Linked DNA regions of Homo sapiens: region 2 is linked to region 1. The links are contacts of gene promoters, found by promoter capture Hi-C in blood cells and fetal thymus (Javierre and others, 2016). All regions are on one chromosome and are shown on one strand. Each heading gives the region's core, a stretch centred on a gene start or on the middle of the fragment in contact. The rest is flanking DNA. Distances are from core to core; before and after follow the strand shown. Region 1 holds the start of SLC35B4 (solute carrier family 35 member B4). Region 2 holds the start of CNOT4 (CCR4-NOT transcription complex subunit 4).

The links. Contacts are between HindIII fragments. The CHiCAGO score rates a contact against its expected background, and 5 or more counts as called.
Region 2: a contact is called between the fragment with the promoter of CNOT4 here and the fragment with the promoter of SLC35B4 in region 1, in 1 of 17 cell types (non-activated CD4 T cells). The highest score is 7.3, in non-activated CD4 T cells.

What each region holds. Positions count from the first base shown.
Region 1 is chr7:134,315,103-134,319,038 of GRCh38, reverse strand. SLC35B4 (solute carrier family 35 member B4) reads left to right here and starts at 2,109. Exons shown (of 10, transcript NM_032826.5): 1 at 2,109-2,364. The coding sequence starts at 2,288. RefSeq lists an enhancer at 1,589-2,318 and a silencer at 2,399-2,568. The HindIII fragment of the contact is 10,331 bases long and covers 1-3,936 here.
Region 2 is chr7:135,508,151-135,512,086 of GRCh38, reverse strand. It overlaps CNOT4 (CCR4-NOT transcription complex subunit 4), which reads left to right and starts at 1,985. Exons shown (of 12, transcript NM_001190850.2): 1 at 1,985-2,198. RefSeq lists enhancers at 1,290-1,459, 1,610-1,729, 1,105-2,009, 2,040-2,239, 2,010-2,915 and a silencer at 1,800-2,039. The HindIII fragment of the contact is 7,472 bases long and covers 1-3,936 here.

The sequences.
Region 1 (3,936 bases), core at 860-3,359:
TTACAGGCTTCTGCTCTCCAAGTGCAGTCAACAGGTCAGTAGCACCAGCATCACCTGGGAGCTACTTAGAAATGCAGAATCTCAGGCCATGCTGCAGGCCTAGTGAATCAGAATCTGCATTTTAACAAGATCCCCAAGTGATTAACATGCACATTAAATTAATACTCACTGCAGTAGGTGAAGACAGAAATGTGGAGGAAGGAAGAAAGATACAGAACTCTTGCAAATATTACAGTACTCAGGCCATTTTTTTCTTGTGCAATCACTTAGACATGCTTGGGTTTTTATCTGAGATGTAATGAGAAATGTTTAGAACATCCTTTAAGGGCTTCCAAATTAGTGGCATATATGGAAAATGAAGGTCTGTGTGAAGAGAAATCACCTCTAATGAAATCCAGATGAAAATCCAGACCAGCTTCCTGTTGGCAGGATTATTGATAGTGGAGGTGGAGATATTATCATTGCTTCAGCCTCACTCCCAGATAGTCCACTTTACTTGGTCTGAGGTAGAACTGGTACTATTATATACCTGTATATATACCAGTTATATATATATATATATGTGTGTGTGTATATATGTGTATATGAATATAACTGGTATATATACGTGTATATATGTATATATAATTCATTGTTTAATGTGCCAGCACTGTGCAAACTCAAGACGGGTGCTCATTAAATACTGAATTTCACAGGTAGTAGGCTTTCTATTTATGTTAGTTCTTCTTCCTACTCACCTTTTTAAGGCAGCAGTTCTCAAATTCTAGAATGCATTAGAATTAGAACGTGGAGTGCTTGTTAAAAATACAAGTTTCTAGAACCCATACACAAGGATTTTGACTTGGTAGGTCTAAAGCGAGACCCAATAATCTGCACTCGATAACGAGTACTTCAGATGATTCCAATGTGATCTCCCAGTCACGGACTGGGAAAAAAGCATTCCAAACTATTTTGTAGATCTCGAGAAAGACTTCAGAATGTTCGTGTCTCACAGGAAATAGCAAAAACAATATAGCATTCCAAAATCCTACCTAGCTTTGTACCGTGTACTTTGCTATTGCTGTTGGATTCAATTACAACGGAAATATTTGATGTGGTAAAATACTGAGCAGTGATGCTAACCTTTTATAGTAGACACTGGGAAGCAGAAAGGAAGTGTAAACACGTTTCCCTTAAAAACTAGTCTTGCTGGGTGGATAAAGTGTGCATACCTATTTTACAAATAAAGAATAGTGCCGCACTAGCTTATGTACGTAATATGTGCTTAACAAACATTTGTTCATTGAGTAAGTAAGAGTCAAGTCGAATGGCTCAGATTGTAAGTGCTATGAGAATTCCACTGTAAGAAGAGGGAAGTATGCCTTCTTTTCACCATTAAAGATCTGATTGCTGATATTGGCATTTTTGCCAGTAGAAGAGCCTGGACGTTGGCAGTTTTCAAAGCCCCCAGGTGATTTGACTGCGCAGCTAAGTTTGAGAACCACGGAGGTAAAGGAAGGGAGTACCTTAAAGAGCTAGGATTAGGGATAATATCAATAGATCACCTTTAAGGCTGCACCTCAGCCTAATTAAATCAGAATCGCTGGGGGTGGGACTTGGCTATCAGTCATCTTTAAAGCTCTCCAAGTGATTCCAATGTACAGACGTGGTTGAGAGCCATTGCTTTACTTGAATTCTCAGTGGTTCTTAATCCTGGCAGCATAATAGAGTCACCAAAGATACATATATATATATCAGTTCAGGAAGCAGAGTTGTTTCAGATGCTAGAACACCTCCAACGAGCAGTCACAGCTCTGTAGTTCTAGTGCCGCCGCTGCCAGCAAGTTTGTTGTGACCCTGGCGGCCGAGTTACTTTCAGCGCTCTGGGCGGTCTCGCAAGAAACACTGACGCTTTGGGACTTCATTTCCCAGCAAGACCCGCGGCCGCCTATCGCGCGAGTCATGCCGGGCACCTCGTCCCCCTGTCCTCTCTGGCGGAGCTGCCTGGCGGAAGCGGGAACGTCGCATCCTGAGGTAAAGGTGCACGGCATCCTGGGACATGTAGTCTGGCCGGGGCTCGGACGCCCCCTCGGATGAATGGGACCGAAGCTGACTGCGAACTACAGCTTCTTGGCAGCGTCGGTGTTGGCCGCGGGAGAAGGGGAGACCGCGGCGGCCCCCAGTGAGAGCGGCTTTCCAGGACGGTGCGATGTGCTGCGCAGCGAAGAGGCAGGAGGCCGGCTTCCTGGGGTAGCGGTACAGGCGGGCGCTTACTCTGTGCGCTTGCTTCCCCAACCCTGCACCGGCCATGCGCCCGGCCTTGGCGGTGGGCCTGGTGTTCGCAGGCTGCTGCAGTAACGTGATCTTCCTAGAGCTCCTGGCCCGGTGAGTGACCCGCTCGGGCCGCACCCGGTCTCCCGGGGCGGGGCGGAGGAAGCCAGAGGAGAGGTCCCCCCGGGACGCGCCCACGCCCTGTCCCCACCCCGCCGCCCACGGAGCCCGGGGCAGGACGGCCTGAGCCCCCCAGCAATCCGTCCTGTCTGGGCAGCCTGGGACCCCGCTGAGTCCGCTGCTTCCCAAAACTGCGCACCGGCGGCAGTCCCGCCTAACAGTTTCAAAGCATTCCTGCGAGGGGAAGACTCAGGGTGTTGCTGTCGTCACCCCTTTTCCACACTCGGGGGGTATTGAAGTCTGAAGAGTTTTTCACATGACCAGTCCAAGGTCGGCAGAGAGCTAGTGTCAGAACCAAGGTTCCTTCACCAAACCACTCTCTCTTCCTTCCCATCCAACTCTAGCTCTTTTTTCGATCCTGTTAAATGGCACAGGCTGGACTTGAGCAAAGGTTTTTGACTTGTAAAGCAGTCTGACTTTGTACATACTGCAAAGAAAGTTTTATTTTTATTACGGCATCCTGCAAAGCATTTGCTTTATTGGCCTTGGAAATGGTTATGAGTACTTTGCCCAAACATACATAAATGATGCGGTAGAACAGATTTTTATGTAGAAGATCAGTCCACGTGACCCGAGAGTGCTCTTTGAGGTGGCTTGCAAAAAGACAAAAAAAAAAGCAAGTAGAAGATTGGTCCAAGTGACCTGAGAGGGCTCTTTGAGGTCACTTTGAATGTGCAAAGTTCAGTGGATAGAAGCTATAACAGAAGAGACAACAGGTGGTGTGGAAAAGCCTCCAGGACTAAAAAGCTGGGTTGTGAATTTCACTCTTGGCTCCGTCGTCCACTGGCTGTGTAGCCCTTCAAGTCACTTAGCCTCTCTTGGGCTCCTTTTCCTGGCAGTAAAACAATACCTATAGTGTTCTCTAGCTCGTGTTTCTGAATCTATACATTACAAGTTGAGTATCCTTCATTTGAAATGCTTGGGAACGGGTGTTATTTGGTGTTTTTTGTTTTTTGTTTTTTTTTTGGATTTGGGAGTATTTGCATATACATAATGAGATATTTTACGGATGGTACCCAAATCTAAACACAAACTCATTTGTGTTTCTTATACACCTTATACACATAACCTTAGCTTGAAGGTAATTGTATACAATATTTTTAATAATTTGTACATGAATTAAAGTTTGTATACGTTGAACTATCAGAAAGCAAAGGTGTCAGGTGTGGAATTTTCACTTGTGGCATCATATCAGTGCTCAAAAAGTTTCATATTTTTTAGAGCATTTCAGAGTTCAGATTTTCAGATGAGAGATACTCAACTTGTATCTCTGTTGATCATCCGAACAATCCTGTGCAGAAGATTGGTCAAGAATTATAAACTGTTTTACTGAAGTGGAAATGGTCCAAAGAAGTTAGGTGACCCTTCACTACTTGTAAGTGGCAGAGCCAGAAATGGGACCCAAGATATCTAAGCTCCTAGTCCAATACCTTTTTCAACCTCCCTGCCAGTTTTGAACTTGAGCAGCCCATAGATTTTGGTCATCCAGTTCTTCATGTGGTGCCT
Region 2 (3,936 bases), core at 736-3,235, 1.2 Mb before region 1:
AAAGAGCATATTATAAAAACATTTATTAAAAAAAGGAATGTTGGGTAAGATAAGGTTGCCACTGGATTAGGTGATGCTTAAGATCCCTTCCAGTTTTTACTGTGATGATTCTAATCTTTCATAATGGGAAGGCTTCTTTTTATTTTGTTCTTTTCATTACTTTGTTTATATACTACTATAGAATCAGTAATATATACAAGAACAATAAACACATTTTTAAATAAAAATGTCAACCATATTGAATGTTTAGGCATTTAATTACCTAAAGGGAAATCCAAATAATTTCCCAAGTTTCCTTGCTAGGTAATCATTTCATGATTCTATAATTTCAAACTTTGGGTAAAATGTGACTTCACTACATATTTTAATTTTTACCCAAGTAACTGTTGTCTCTAGGTTTATAGTGAGGAAACTGAAACACAGAAAACCAATGTACCAAAAGAATGAGGCCGGGTGCCCTGGCTCACGTCTGTAATCCCAGTACTTTGGGAGGCCGAGGCAGGCAGATTACCTGAGGTCAGGAGTTCGAGACCAGGCTGACCAACATGGTGAAACCCTGTCTCTACTAAAAATATAAAAATTAGCCTGGCGTGGTGGCACGTGCCTGTAATCCCAGCTACTCGGGAGGCTGAGGCAGGAGAATCACTTGAATCCGGCAGGCGGAGGTCGCAGTGAGCCGAGATCGCGCCACTGCACTCCAGCCTGGGTGACAGAGCTAGACTCCGTCTCAAAAAAAAAAAAAAAGAAAAAACAATGAATTGAGGGCTTATTATGAAATTAAGTTCGTAAATTTAAAACTGCAACCTCTTTCCCTACTCCCCTTCCCTGCTTTAAGTTTTTAAAATCGGTTATGACATACTATGCATTTTAATCACGTATTTTTAAAATAATGCCTCTTCTCTCCTCTTCCTCATCCCAACACATCACTAGAATAGGGACAGGGAATTTTTTCTATTTTGCTCACCATTGTATTCTCAATATATAGAAGAGTACCCGGCAGCTAGGAGGAGCTCATTGAGTATTTGCTGTATGAGTGGGTGAAGAATACATGCAATAAGCAAAAGTTACTGCTTCGAGCGCCACTTCCACCAGAGTTCTGGGATGCAAACGGGGCGACCAGTACATTGACTGACTTTTGTGACTGATGATTCCTCAGTGCTCGTAGGGATTGTGGCTGCATTTATTGTTCTTGGGGATGTGCCGATGTGTGTAGTTTGTAAACTTGCACACAGCTGTGCTGGCTGGACACCGAACTAACACTAATTTGCACCGAGGTCCGCAAATTCTCAAATTCACACCAACAGAAGCACGTTATTGTAAGTGCACGGGTGTTCCGTTCTCTTGGGTAATCTGCACAGAACAATTTAGTGTATGTCTTCACTGGTGATTTTACAGTGAAGAAGGGATCAAGGGTGGTGGCCCCAAATGCGCAAGGACAGGGAAATGAATTAAACAGGCGCCTGTTTCCTCCTTGTTCGCAAACAGACGCCAAGTCTGTATCAAATTCTCACCCTGGATCAAATCCCGCGCTCTTCGTACCCACAACCTGCCTCCACCTCCACCCCGCCCCCTTTAGATATCCCTGGTGGGCGGGGCAGAGAATAAACATTCCGGGCTCCCCGAAAAACTGTTTAGCCTCGCCCCAGTCTTGGGGTAGCACATTTCCGCAAACACCGAGGACACGGAATCACTAGTGAAAACCGCCGACCAAATGACATTGAAGCAGCACACGCGTGCAGAGAAGGAAGCAAAACACGAAGAAAGGCATCAGTCCAGCAGCCACGTGAGGTGGGCGATCCCCTCCGCCCTCTGAGAGAGGACTTCAACTCCCGGCGTGCCCCTGGGAGGTTACCCTCCGAGGACTTCAACTCCCAGGGTGCTGCGGGAGCGGCCACCGCAACCTCCCACTCAGCCGCCCGCCGCTCCTCCCGCCCCTCCCCCGCCCCTCCTGGCCGGATCAGCGTGCGCCTGCGCACGGGAGGCCGGAGGAGTCTTACCCTAATGTAAGATGGTGGCCCGTCTGGCTGTGGAACCCACCGAAAGCTGAGAGTCTCTCTCTCAGCCGTAAAGGTCGGACTCGCTGAAGCAATCAGGCCCGGTTCTGAAGAGTTTTTTCCCCGACGCTCGTTCGGTGGTTTCTTGTGAGGACGCGGCAGCCCGTGGAGTCGGCTGAGGGAAAAGCGAGGCAAGGCAGGCGGGTGAGTCTATGCGGGGCTGGGCTTAGGGGAAACCCGGGGCTGACCGGCTACGAGAGAGCGGAGGCTTCGCTGGGACTGTACAGGCCGCACCCCCCTTTCTCCCCACCCCCCGCCTCATCTTCACCCTCCTCCTCCTTGGTCTTCTTCCTCCTCCTCCTCTTCCTCCCTCTCCCCTTTACGCCACAGCAGTTACCATAAGGAAAAGGGAGCGGGTCAGAAGGCAGCGCGGCGGCAAGCAGCGACTCTCCTTCGAGAATTTCTTTAATTGGGGAGCCGAGGCGGCTTTTGGTCTCCAGCTTTTCCCCCTGCATTTTCACCGGGGCAGGATTCTTAGGTCTCAGCCCTCCTTGTTTCCCCAATCCCCTGTTCCCTGTCTGACGTCCTTTCCCTCTGGCCCCCGTCTCCCAAGACCAAAGCCATCACTTCCACTCTGATCCGTGTTGGCTGCTGCTGCTCATTAATCCCACTGCTCATTGCCCACTCGTCCTGCTGCTTGTTTTTTTGCTCCACTGCTACCACTCTGGAGTTAGCCTTTGCCCCCCTCTGGTGCTTGCAATCAGCCCACAGTGTATCTGCCACACTAGAGCTGCTTCCGATTTGCAGTCTTTCCTTCCACCACATCTGTCATCTTAAAGCTGCCCCTTAAGTATCTAGATTATGCTCCTCCTGCTAACCCACCTGTTTCTCAGCCTTCTTGAGAATTGTCCGTTCCTTCCCTCTTTCCTGTACAGATCCTTTCAATATACACTTCCAGAAAAAGGGAAGCCCCGTGGTGGCCCTTGAAAAGTAAAAGGAAGTTGGGAAGTGAATGAAGTGAGGTAGGATACTATTAAACGTTATGAGTGAAGATCTTTTATTCAGGCTACTCCGGAGAGGACCGTTTTCGTTTTGCTTTCTGTGATCTATTTGTCGCTTATTCGCTCTGTTGTGTTAGGACTTGGCTTTTTTTCTTTTTTTTCGTTTTGGACCGGTTTTATCATGCTACTAAGCGTTCTTTGGATTGCCTCTCCCCAGGACACTTAGTGTGGGCCCTGATTTATACCAATAAATATTAACCCCAGCATTACAAAATAAGATAAATCTGGCGCACATACAGAATTCATCTGTGAACTCCGCTAGCAAATATAAGTGATATTTTGATTACATGTGGGTTATGTGTGGGTTCTGTATTGAGGCTTGATTTTTGACTGAGTTTTATTGATGTTCAGCTTAATTGATGACATTTTATTTATGATTTGAGTGGAAATTTCCTCTCCAGTTAATATCAGATTTTCTTCTTATTTTTGGATTTGGGAAGTTCTCTTGACATTTCTAGGATGATAGTTATCAGAATAAATTGTCTTGTCTTGAAAATCCATTAGTTATGTATGCAAAAGAAAAATCGACATTTTTATATAAACCTAAGTTCCTCGTATTTTTCTCATAGAAAAGAAGGGGGCTGGGAAAAGAATGACAAAGCTGTGCACATACATGCATTTGGTGGAACTCACTGTCATTGTTATCTACAGTAAAAAGCAGAAAACTGGAAGCAAGAGGTGGCTTATGATGTCCATGTTTTGGTGAAAGCAAAATTAAGATGTACTGACTAATGGTAAAATGGGAAGAAGCAGCCCTGGCTATAATCAGACCACTGTGAGATAAAGAATTACCAGAAAAGCAACCAAGATTACATAGTTCAAATACATACATCCCAAGTTTAAACATGACTTACATGACATTGTATTCTTAAGATATATGT